Regions from separate parts of the Homo sapiens genome. Here all the other regions are linked to region 1. The links are contacts of gene promoters, found by promoter capture Hi-C in human tissues and cell types (Jung and others, 2019). All regions are on one chromosome and are shown on one strand. The core of a region is centred on a gene start or on the middle of the fragment in contact, and the rest is flanking DNA. Distances in the headings are between cores, read along the strand shown. Region 1 holds the start of USP18 (ubiquitin specific peptidase 18). Region 2 overlaps MICAL3 (microtubule associated monooxygenase, calponin and LIM domain containing 3). Region 3 holds the start of LOC124905075 (a long non-coding RNA gene).

Region 1 (3,011 bases), core at 292-2,791:
TGCTGCACTGTGGGCGACACTGCCTCCGTTCCAGCAGCAATGTAAGCGGAGTCTGGGCTGACGATGGACGTGTGGATAGCCTGTATGTGTATATCTGTGCTCATGCTTCTAACACACATCCACCCTATTATGGACACGTTTATACATCTTCATGCCATGGTATTTTGTACCTTACTGCAGACCCTACCAACGCTTCAGTGAGGTTCTGGCAGCTTTGGGTTTTTGGAGGCTATTTGTCTGTTGCTGCGGGGACGGCTTTCAGAAAGAATGATCGCTTTGGGGGAATTGTACCCTGCTTTCCTGCGCAAATTCCAGCGGCTGGAGTTTGAGGCCCCTAGCAGATAACCCTTCTGCCCCTACCCCCATGAGTCTACATACAAGAAATACATCTCTAAAGAGGTAATAAGCCTTTCCGGTGTGCATGTTACAGATCTCTTAACCTTATATATACACAGATGGTCCATCACTTACCGTGGTTTCACTTACGATGTTTCGACTTCATGATGGGTTCACTGGGACTTGACCCCATTTTTTTTTTTTTTTTTTAGACGGAGTCTTGCTCTTGTCGATCTCTGCTCACTGCAACCTCCGCTTCTTGGGTTCAAGTTATTCTCCTGCCTCAGCCTCTTAAGTAGCTGGGATTAAGCGCCACCACGCCGAGCTAATTTTTGTACTTTTAGTAGAGATGGGGTTTCACTATGTTGGTCAGGCTGGTCTCGAACTCCTGACCTCAGGTGATCCGCCTGCCTCAGCATCCCAAAGTGCTGGGATTACAGGTGTGAGCCACCGCGCCCCCTGACCCCTTCTTAAGTGGAGAAATATCTGTATCTGCATGCCCACAGGGGAGCTCCTAATTACACCATGTGCCGCATCCAAGCCACAGGCCGGTGATGTGAAGACACCCGATCCAAGAAATACAATAGCATTAAGAAAGAAAAAATGCTGCCATGGATACTACCAAACGCCAAATGACTCTAACACGTAGGCTAATTGCAAGGACCTTAAAATCGCAAATAAAAAGGCGCCTGTAGGTCGGGCGCGGTGGCCCACACCTGTAATCCCAGCACTTTAGGAGGCGGGCGGATCACCTGAGACCAGCCTGGCCAGCATGGCGGAACCCCATCGCTACTAAAATACAAAAATTAGCCAGGAGTGGTGGCGCATGCCTGTAATCCCAGCTACTCCGGAGCCTGAGGCAGGAGAATCGCTTGAACCCAGGAGGCGGAGTTTGCAGTGAACCGAGACAGCGCAACCGCACTCCAGCCTGGACGACAGAATGAGACTCCGTCTCAAAAAAAAAAAAAAAAAAAAAAAGCGAGGGCTGGAAGTCTGGAGCAGGTGCGCGGCTGCAACGGCAGCCGCGGGAAGCTCGGGCCGGCAGGGTTTCCCCGCACGCTGGCGCCCAGCTCCCGGCGCGGAGGCCGCTGTAAGTTTCGCTTTCCATTCAGTGGAAAACGAAAGCTGGGCGGGGTGCCACGAGCGCGGGGCCAGACCAAGGCGGGCCCGGAGCGGAACTTCGGTCCCAGCTCGGTCCCCGGCTCAGTCCCGACGTGGAACTCAGCAGCGGAGGCTGGACGCTTGCATGGCGCTTGAGGCAAGTTCGGGGCTCATTTTGGAAGTTTTCTTTCTAGCACAGACATCCAACTCTGCTCCTATGCCAGTCAGATAATTAAGGAATTAAGTAATAATTGTGCTCTGCAAATTATGATAGTGATCTGTATTTACTACGTGCATATATTTTGGGCCAGTGAATTTTTTTCTAAGCTAATATAGTTATTTGGACTTTTGACATGACTTTGTGTTTAATTAAAACAAAAAAAGAAATTGCAGAAGTGTTGTAAGCTTGTAAAAAAATTCAAACAATGCAGACAAATGTGTCTCGCAGTCTTCCACTCAGTATCATTTTTGTTTGTACCTTATCAGAAATGTTTCTATGTACAAGTCTTTAAAATCATTTCGAACTTGCTTTGTCCACTGAGTATATTATGGACATCTTTTCATGGCAGGACATATAGATGTGTTAATGGCATTAAAAATAAAACAAAAAACTGATTCGGCCGGGTACGGTGGCTCACGCCTGTAATCCCAGCACTTTGGGAGATCGAGGAGGGAGGATCACCTGAGGTCAGGAGTTACAGACATGGAGAAACCCCGTCTCTACTAAAAATACAAAATTAGCCTGGCGTGGTGGCGCATGCCTGTAATCCCAGCTACTCGGGAGGCTGAGGCAGGAGAATCGCTTGAACCCGGGAGCGGAGGTTGCGGTGAGCCGAGATCGCACCGTTGCACTCCAGCCTGGGCGACAGAGCGAAACTGTCTCAAACAAACAAACAAAAAAACCTGATACATGGTATGGGAAGTACATTGTTTAAACAATGCATGGAGATTTAGGTTGTTTCCAGTTTTTACTGGCACAGATACGGCAATGAATATAATTTTATGTATACATTCATACAAATATATCGGTGGAAAATTCCTAGAAGTGGAATGGCTGGGTCAGTGGGCATTCATATTGAGAAATTGGAAGGATGTTGTCAAACTCTGCAAATCAGAGTATTTTAGTCTTAACCTCTCTTCTTCACACCCTTTTCCTTGGAAGAAAGCTAAATTTAGACTTTTAAACACAAAACTCCATTTTGAGACCCCTGAAAATCTGGGTTCAAAGTGTTTGAAAATTAAAGCAGAGGCTTTAATTTGTACTTATTTAGGTATAATTTGTACTTTAAAGTTGTTCCAGAAAACAAGGCAAATACTGAAAAGCATTTCATCTGAAGTTTCTTTCTGGTATTGAACAGAGTTGGATGGAGAGTGAATGCAGGTTACCGATGTGTTCGCAGGAACAAAACGGGAGGGAGAGTAACACAGGTGCACGGCTTCATATTGATTTATCAAAGAACTTGCTTTTGGACTGTTAAAAAATGTGTTGCACAGTTCTGACACTTTTACACAATGATGAGCTTACAAAGGGGAAAATGCTTAACATAAACATAGTTTCAAAGAAGGTAAGTCCT
Region 2 (3,060 bases), core at 374-2,873, 260 kb before region 1:
AACTTCTGGGTGAGCTAAGTGACAGGAGCACCAGAGGTCACTTACCTCCATCCAAGCACACCAGAAATCCCCATTTGTAATCCACACTGCACAAGGCTATTTTTACCAGCTCTTGCCTTGTCAGTTTATAACCATCATATAAATAGCAACTATATCTTGTAGGATTCCTTAAGCAATCATTAAACAAAACAAACAGAAATTGGCCCCTTAAGTGGACCTAATGATGAAAAGGACAGGAAACCAAAATAATGCAACATGCTCTGCTTCTGAATCCTTCGGTTTGGCTTCCGTGGTAACAAATGCCGATGGGGGAACCTGGGTGTGCTGGTCCCCGCAGCTGACCTGGGGTCACCCTAGAACTCTGATTCTGTAGACAGGTGAGTGGAGAATGGCCAAAGGAGATGTCACTGGGATAGGTGGGTAGGACAACAGAGTATGTCTGTAAAAAACGCAGTCTTTAACACAGAGAAAATACCAATGAACCATCATAAATTGGTCAACTGTTCATGATGTTTTGCTTTGTTAGTAGTGACACATTTGCCTTGAGCTGGCCAAATGTTCTAGCCAGGTTTCCCTTGTGACCCATAGAATTTGAGAGACAGCTGGCCGAAATGAAGAGTTCAACCGGGGCCAATAAACAGTTTTCCTTTGTGGGAAGCTAACAGGCCCAGGTGGGTGTCAAAACCAGTTTTTGACTTATGAGTGTTGTGATTTTTAAAACTCAGCTATAGGAGCACAAAAAAAAAAATTGGAAAAAAACAAAAATAAAAATCATTCCTGGGTTGAGCTATATAATACATGACATACAGAGTTTCAAATATAGTGAAATCAAAATCACTGCCTTCTAGAGAAAGTATCTTACTATGTACCTCATTCTAGGAAAAAGGACAAAATGTTACTTGATAGCAGAGTGGTCTGAGATCCTTGAGGAGTATAAAAAAACACAAAGTTTGATCACAACTTACATCAGGTCAGGGCGGTATCTATGGATAATTGCACAAAGGGCCAAGCCACTTTTCCAGGACATGGTGAGATCTGTCACGTTTACCCCTGCATAGCCATCTGTCTGCCTCTGGCACCAACCCAGCAGTTTGCTTGAACGAGCTACAGACTCTAAAACAACAAAACACAGTATTATTGGAGGTGTGGTCACCTGGTAATGCTGACAGAGAATCCTCTTTGTAGGACACATGTCCCCTTTGAAAAATTACTGAGGGTAGGGACGAAACAGTCAACACTAGTTTCCATGCAAAGAAAACAGTGAGGAACAAGGTTATGCAAATGGTATCATGACAGCGAATTCTAAGAAAAGAAACTACTAGTTTATCCAGACTCTAAGGTCAACGTCCACCCCCCAGTACCCTGAGGGACCACAGCCTGACAGCCACAACCTGCTGTCCCCACGGCACTGAGGTGGAGGAGCGCCACCTACTGTGTGGCCAGCCTGGCTTACAGCAGCTCTGAGTTCCCGGACAGTCGCTGGCACCTAGCTGAGGAAGCCTACCCCCTCCAAAGTAACACTGGGAAGAGGAGAGGAGAAAAGGCTCCATTCTATAGGGTGGCACGTTCAACCCAAAGCACCCAGGCCTCGCCCTTGCACTTCCAAGGCACTGTATAACTTGCCAAGAGAAGAAGCCCTGCAGGGCTCCGCTGACAACCCTGGGGCCCCAGACCAGACAGTCCCCGAACAGAGCTTGGCACCTTGTACTATGAATTCTCAACCCTGAGAAACTGAATAGGCAAACACATGTGCTGGGATGCTTTTTACAGTTCATTGAAACGTCTTCTAAAACCCGAACAGCCTCTTTAAAAATCCTATTATTAATCACATCAGAAGAGCTCTGATATCGGCCATTCAAAAGAATCTATGAACTATTTATATCCAAGAAAGTCTGTTCCCTTACCGAGGGCAACTGAAGTTTGTACTAAGTCATTTAGTAATTTGTGAACATAAGCTAAAAACCAAGTATCATGAAAATCCTGTTTCATTTAGGTTTTTCGCCATGAAAATGTATTCTGCGATAACACATAAAACCACCTTCTGGTGCCATCTCTTGGCTCAGAAATGAGCTTTTACTCAGATCTGTCTCCTATGTGTATATCCAACCATCCAATATGTAACAGGCAACTTCAATATTCCATGCTCTAAAATAAAAACAGTGAATAAAGATACACTCTCTGCTTTCAAAGAGAAGACGCTCCAGTGGAGAAAAATGCAAATGTTTCCAACTGCCTGCTGGTCCTCACATCCACCCTGGCATCCCAATGGCACGTCAAATTCACAATGTCCAAATGACTCAAACCTCTCAACCCTCTCAGCCCTCCCTCTGCCTTGCCTACGCTGATGTAGCACCATCTACAAACACCTACCTCTTGCCCCACAAGGTGATCAATTGCCCCTGCCCATCGACTTCACCTCCTTACCATTCTCTCTCACATAACCAACAATGGCAATGACCATCCACCACAGGCCCGGCACTCATGATCACAATGTGAGGTAGACACTGCTGCCCCCACTTCACAGACAAGGAAATCGAAGTTCAGAGCTATTCAATCACCTCTTCGAGGCCGCACAATTCACCAGCAGCAAAGCTTGGCCTGGGACCCAGTTGCACCTGGCCCAAAGTCTGAGGTCTCCTCCACTGCCTCCTCCCTTCTTCATCCCCAGCATCAGGCCCAGATCTGGGCCTCCACCACCTTCAGCCTGACTATGGCGAGGTCTTTCTACCTGGTCTCCCTGCCTCTGGTACTTCCCTCCTCCAACCCCTCTCACGTGTGGCTGACCAGGTGTACTCATGTCATTCTCTTTCAAAAAAGTATTCAGGGCCTTCAATACATACAAAATCTGGAGTGGTCCTCACCTGTCACTGAATCCTGGCTATGTTGCAGGACCCAGCCAAAGACTTTTTCCACAAAGTCTTCTCCCGAAACCTTAGCTCTCACACTCTCTCCCTCTCTCCCCTCTGCCCCGCGTCTGTACCTGGTTTCTCTCTGTGCTCTCGTAACACCTCAGGCCAAGGTAATTCCGTGTGGTGGAGGCCTGTCTCGTGCACTGCGGGA
Region 3 (3,150 bases), core at 313-2,812, 280 kb before region 1:
CCTGGGCCGTGAACCACCTGGAGCTGTATGTGGGACATTCAGAACACCCAGCAGTTTGTGGAGCTCTGGACGCATCTCACAGGCAAGTTTTACAAGTTGCTGAGAGAGGCCATTTTAAGGAAAATCTACATAATTCTTCCCAACAGGCCTGGTACCCACAAACCCTGCGAGTCCTGTCATGCTATGACAAGAATAAATGTGTTTGTAGAGGTAGAGATGGTACTGTTCACCTCCCAACACAAGGAAGTGGTCATGAAAGTGGGACAGGTGAGGGCTTGGACCTCATGACAAGCCCAGTGGCCAAGGGGTCAGGACAGGGCATGTCCCATCACGGTGCAGGGCAGACAGGAGAGCAGCCACAGCTCATCCACACACAGTGACAGGGAACAGGACGCAGAATCTTAAGTGAAGGTGAACCCAAAACAAGACCACGGGGCTTAATCAACACAGCTCCAGGCCGTCAGAGGAGCTTGGAAGCAAACTGCATGAAGGCCGAGTGGCCTTGGCCTCACCAGGGCGGGTGATGGGAGCAGTGTCTGAGCGCCTGCGAGCTCCTGTCTACCTACACAGGACCTGGGCCGCCCTCAGGTGTGATGGTGCGGGACGGGGCTGAGGGACAGCACTTCACGGCTCTGCCGCCCACCGGACGGCCCCATCACTGGGCCACAGCCTGCCAGTGGAACTCCCCTCTGATTTGCACCAGCACCTCCGACAGGCCATAGAGAAAGGGGACTCCGAACGCAAGCAGCTGGCACATGAAAAAGGAGTCCAGAGGGTTTTGGGCCACTTGTTGCCCGAATGAAGAAATGTTGCTTTGGAGGTGCTGGCTCATGCCCTTGGCCTTGTCACAGAGGCCGAGGGAGTGACGCGCCACCCAGCCAAACAAGGAAGTGAGGCTACCTGGGGTTCTCTCAGTGGAGCTGGCCACGGCGTTGGCCCGTCCGTTTGCATCTGTGGTGGCGCCATCCTGCAGGGGTCCTTTGGCCTCCTAGGAAAGTTCATGAGAAAAAGAAGAGTGACTCTGACTGATGCACTCAAATCCTCAAATCCCTAGAGGCACTGACAATCTGACACGCTGGTTTTAAATTTTATTTATTTATTTATTTATTTATTTATTTATTTATTTATTTAAGAGACAGGGCCTTGCTGGCACCCAGGCTGGAGTGCAGCGGCATCATCATAGCTCACTGCAGCCCCGACCTCCTGGGCTCAAGCAATCCTCCCACCTCAGCCTCCTGAGTCACCCGGAGTCAAAGTCTAGATCCACCTAGGTGCACCTCTTCCTGCCAGTCCCTCTGCAGGCAACAGAAGCCCTCAAGGGGGACTGACAGGCAGGCGTGCTGACAAGGTGGCAACCATGCTGAAGAGACTGCTGGGTTCACCGCGACAAAGACAGGTGGAGAAGCCACCCTCATTAAAAAGAGGATAAGGAAGGAAAAAATTCACAGACAAATAACTCACAGAACTAGTGAAAGGCCCCGCAGGCAGGGCGCCCTTTGGGTGTGGGGAGTGAGGGTGGGGCCACCGAGGGATCCTCCCAACAGTCTCCTCTCCCACCCTGCCCTTCTGGAGGAGGCTCTAATCATGTGGAACATGAGGCGGCATCACCCCAGTGGCAGGGTGTCCTCTCAGAAAGATGTGTGTTGACGAAGGCAGATGTCTACGCAGCTGAGATGGAGAGCTGCATCATCTCCTGGGTCCGACTCAGGGGGCAGGTGGAGCCTTTACCTTAGCGAGGCAACCTCAGATCATCCATGAAAAGATGGTTCCCTCTCCACCCCGGACTGCCACTGCATTTCGGGCCCTCCCCGTTCCCAGGAGAGGCAAGGACGCAGGGGCATTTGCAGGTTGGCCGCCCCCGGCCCATAGCCACACTGCTGCAACACCCACTGCTTCTCCCCCACTTACAGGAGAGTCACCATTACCTTTCCAGACAGGGGAGCCACTGCCGGTCTCTTCCTTTGTGCGTAGCCAGAGAGTCGATAGCAGTAGTGTGGCTTACAGTAGAATTTACCTGCAGACAGCAAGAGGCAGGGACAGAGGCGATGAGCCAGGCACGGATCCTGAACGTGCCTCCCTGGTCTCAGCCACTCCTTTCCATCTCCTCCAGCCTCACAAGGCCATCAAGCCACCCAGCCTTCCCTGGGCCCAGCTTTCTTGTCCAGAGAAGCCAGTTCCTCCGGGTAAACTTTGATTCTAGCTCTCCTCTCCCTTGGCCTGAAGGGGGTCTTTTCCTTTGGGAATGTGAAGGCCATTGAGCCATCACCCAATCAGTGCCCAGAGCAAAGATGTGAGGCCTGTGTGGCAGGGCCAGCAAACAAAGTGGCAGTGTGTGAGGAACAAAGATGTGGTCACATGAAACGCTGGGAGTAGCATTGCTGGGGAAACCAAGAATGAATACAAGTGCAGGGTGGAGGCGTGGAGGCTGCAGGGGTGGGGCATCGCCTGGCATTGGCTCTGACAGGCCCATCTCTGCTGCTCCCCCTCCCGCACCCTATCTCTCACCCCCTCCCAGTCCCCTCAGAGGGTCAGGATCAGCAGGAAAGGACATTAGAAGACAAAAAATACTGCAATGGACTATGAGTAGGATGGAAGGGAACAGCATAGAACAGAACAGAATAGAATAGAATAGAATAGAATAGAATAGAATAGAATAGAATAGAATAGAATATAGAATAGAATAGAATAGAATCCAGAGTGTACTGTGGCATGATGAGAATAAAACGTTATTTCTTGGAACTTGCAGCTGTGTCTGGGTCTCAATGTAACGTGCATCCCCGTGGGGGGTGTCGTCAGAAAAATCTGAACACCACTGAACTTGGCTTTTCCCATGACTCTGGTAATGGAATTAACCCACGCAGTCATTTTTTTCTGACTCTTTTTTACTCTCACTTAAAGAGCGACTGACGACTTTTGAATCTCAAGTGATAAACCCTACTATAGAAACTGTTGAAACAGAAGTAATCCCATTTCATTTTCCTCATTTGTAGAGAGTGCTTCTTAGACAAATGAGCTTTCCTGATCTCAAAGCTACAATAAGAGGACCTAAAAGTCAAAGAAAATAAAGGTAAGATGGCATTCTTCCCTTTCCCTTTCCCTGATGATCTGATTATATCTTTCTTCTTTTCCTTCAGAGAAACTGACTTGTTT

What was found. The method cuts DNA at HindIII sites, captures the fragments that hold promoters and counts their contacts. A contact is called where the count stands out against the background at its distance.
Region 2: a fragment that was not itself captured here is called in contact with the fragment with the promoter of USP18 in region 1 in 3 of the 25 tissues and cell types used here (dorsolateral prefrontal cortex, lymphoblastoid cells and thymus).
Region 3: a contact is called between a fragment that was not itself captured here and the fragment with the promoter of USP18 in region 1, in 1 of the 25 tissues and cell types used here (lymphoblastoid cells).

Annotation. Positions count from the first base shown.
Region 1 is chr22:18,148,629-18,151,639 of GRCh38, forward strand. USP18 (ubiquitin specific peptidase 18) reads left to right here and starts at 1,542. Exons shown (of 11, transcript NM_017414.4): 1 at 1,542-1,594. It overlaps LOC124905076 (a long non-coding RNA gene), which reads right to left and starts at 586. Exons shown (of 2, transcript XR_007067999.1): 1 at 472-586. RefSeq lists an enhancer at 1,283-1,602. The HindIII fragment of the contact is 12,042 bases long and covers 1-2,815 here.
Region 2 is chr22:17,890,520-17,893,579 of GRCh38, forward strand. It overlaps MICAL3 (microtubule associated monooxygenase, calponin and LIM domain containing 3), which reads right to left. Exons shown (of 32, transcript NM_015241.3): 12 at 966-1,113. Among named protein-coding and RNA genes, the nearest start is that of MIR648, 89 kb to the right of the region's middle. The HindIII fragment of the contact is 3,153 bases long and covers 48-3,060 here.
Region 3 is chr22:17,863,999-17,867,148 of GRCh38, forward strand. MICAL3 (microtubule associated monooxygenase, calponin and LIM domain containing 3) reads right to left here. Exons shown (of 32, transcript NM_015241.3): 18 at 1,926-2,014; 19 at 901-988. It overlaps LOC124905075 (a long non-coding RNA gene), which reads left to right and starts at 2,753. Exons shown (of 3, transcript XR_007067998.1): 1 at 2,753-2,839; 2 at 2,991-3,067. The HindIII fragment of the contact is 7,762 bases long and covers 1-3,150 here.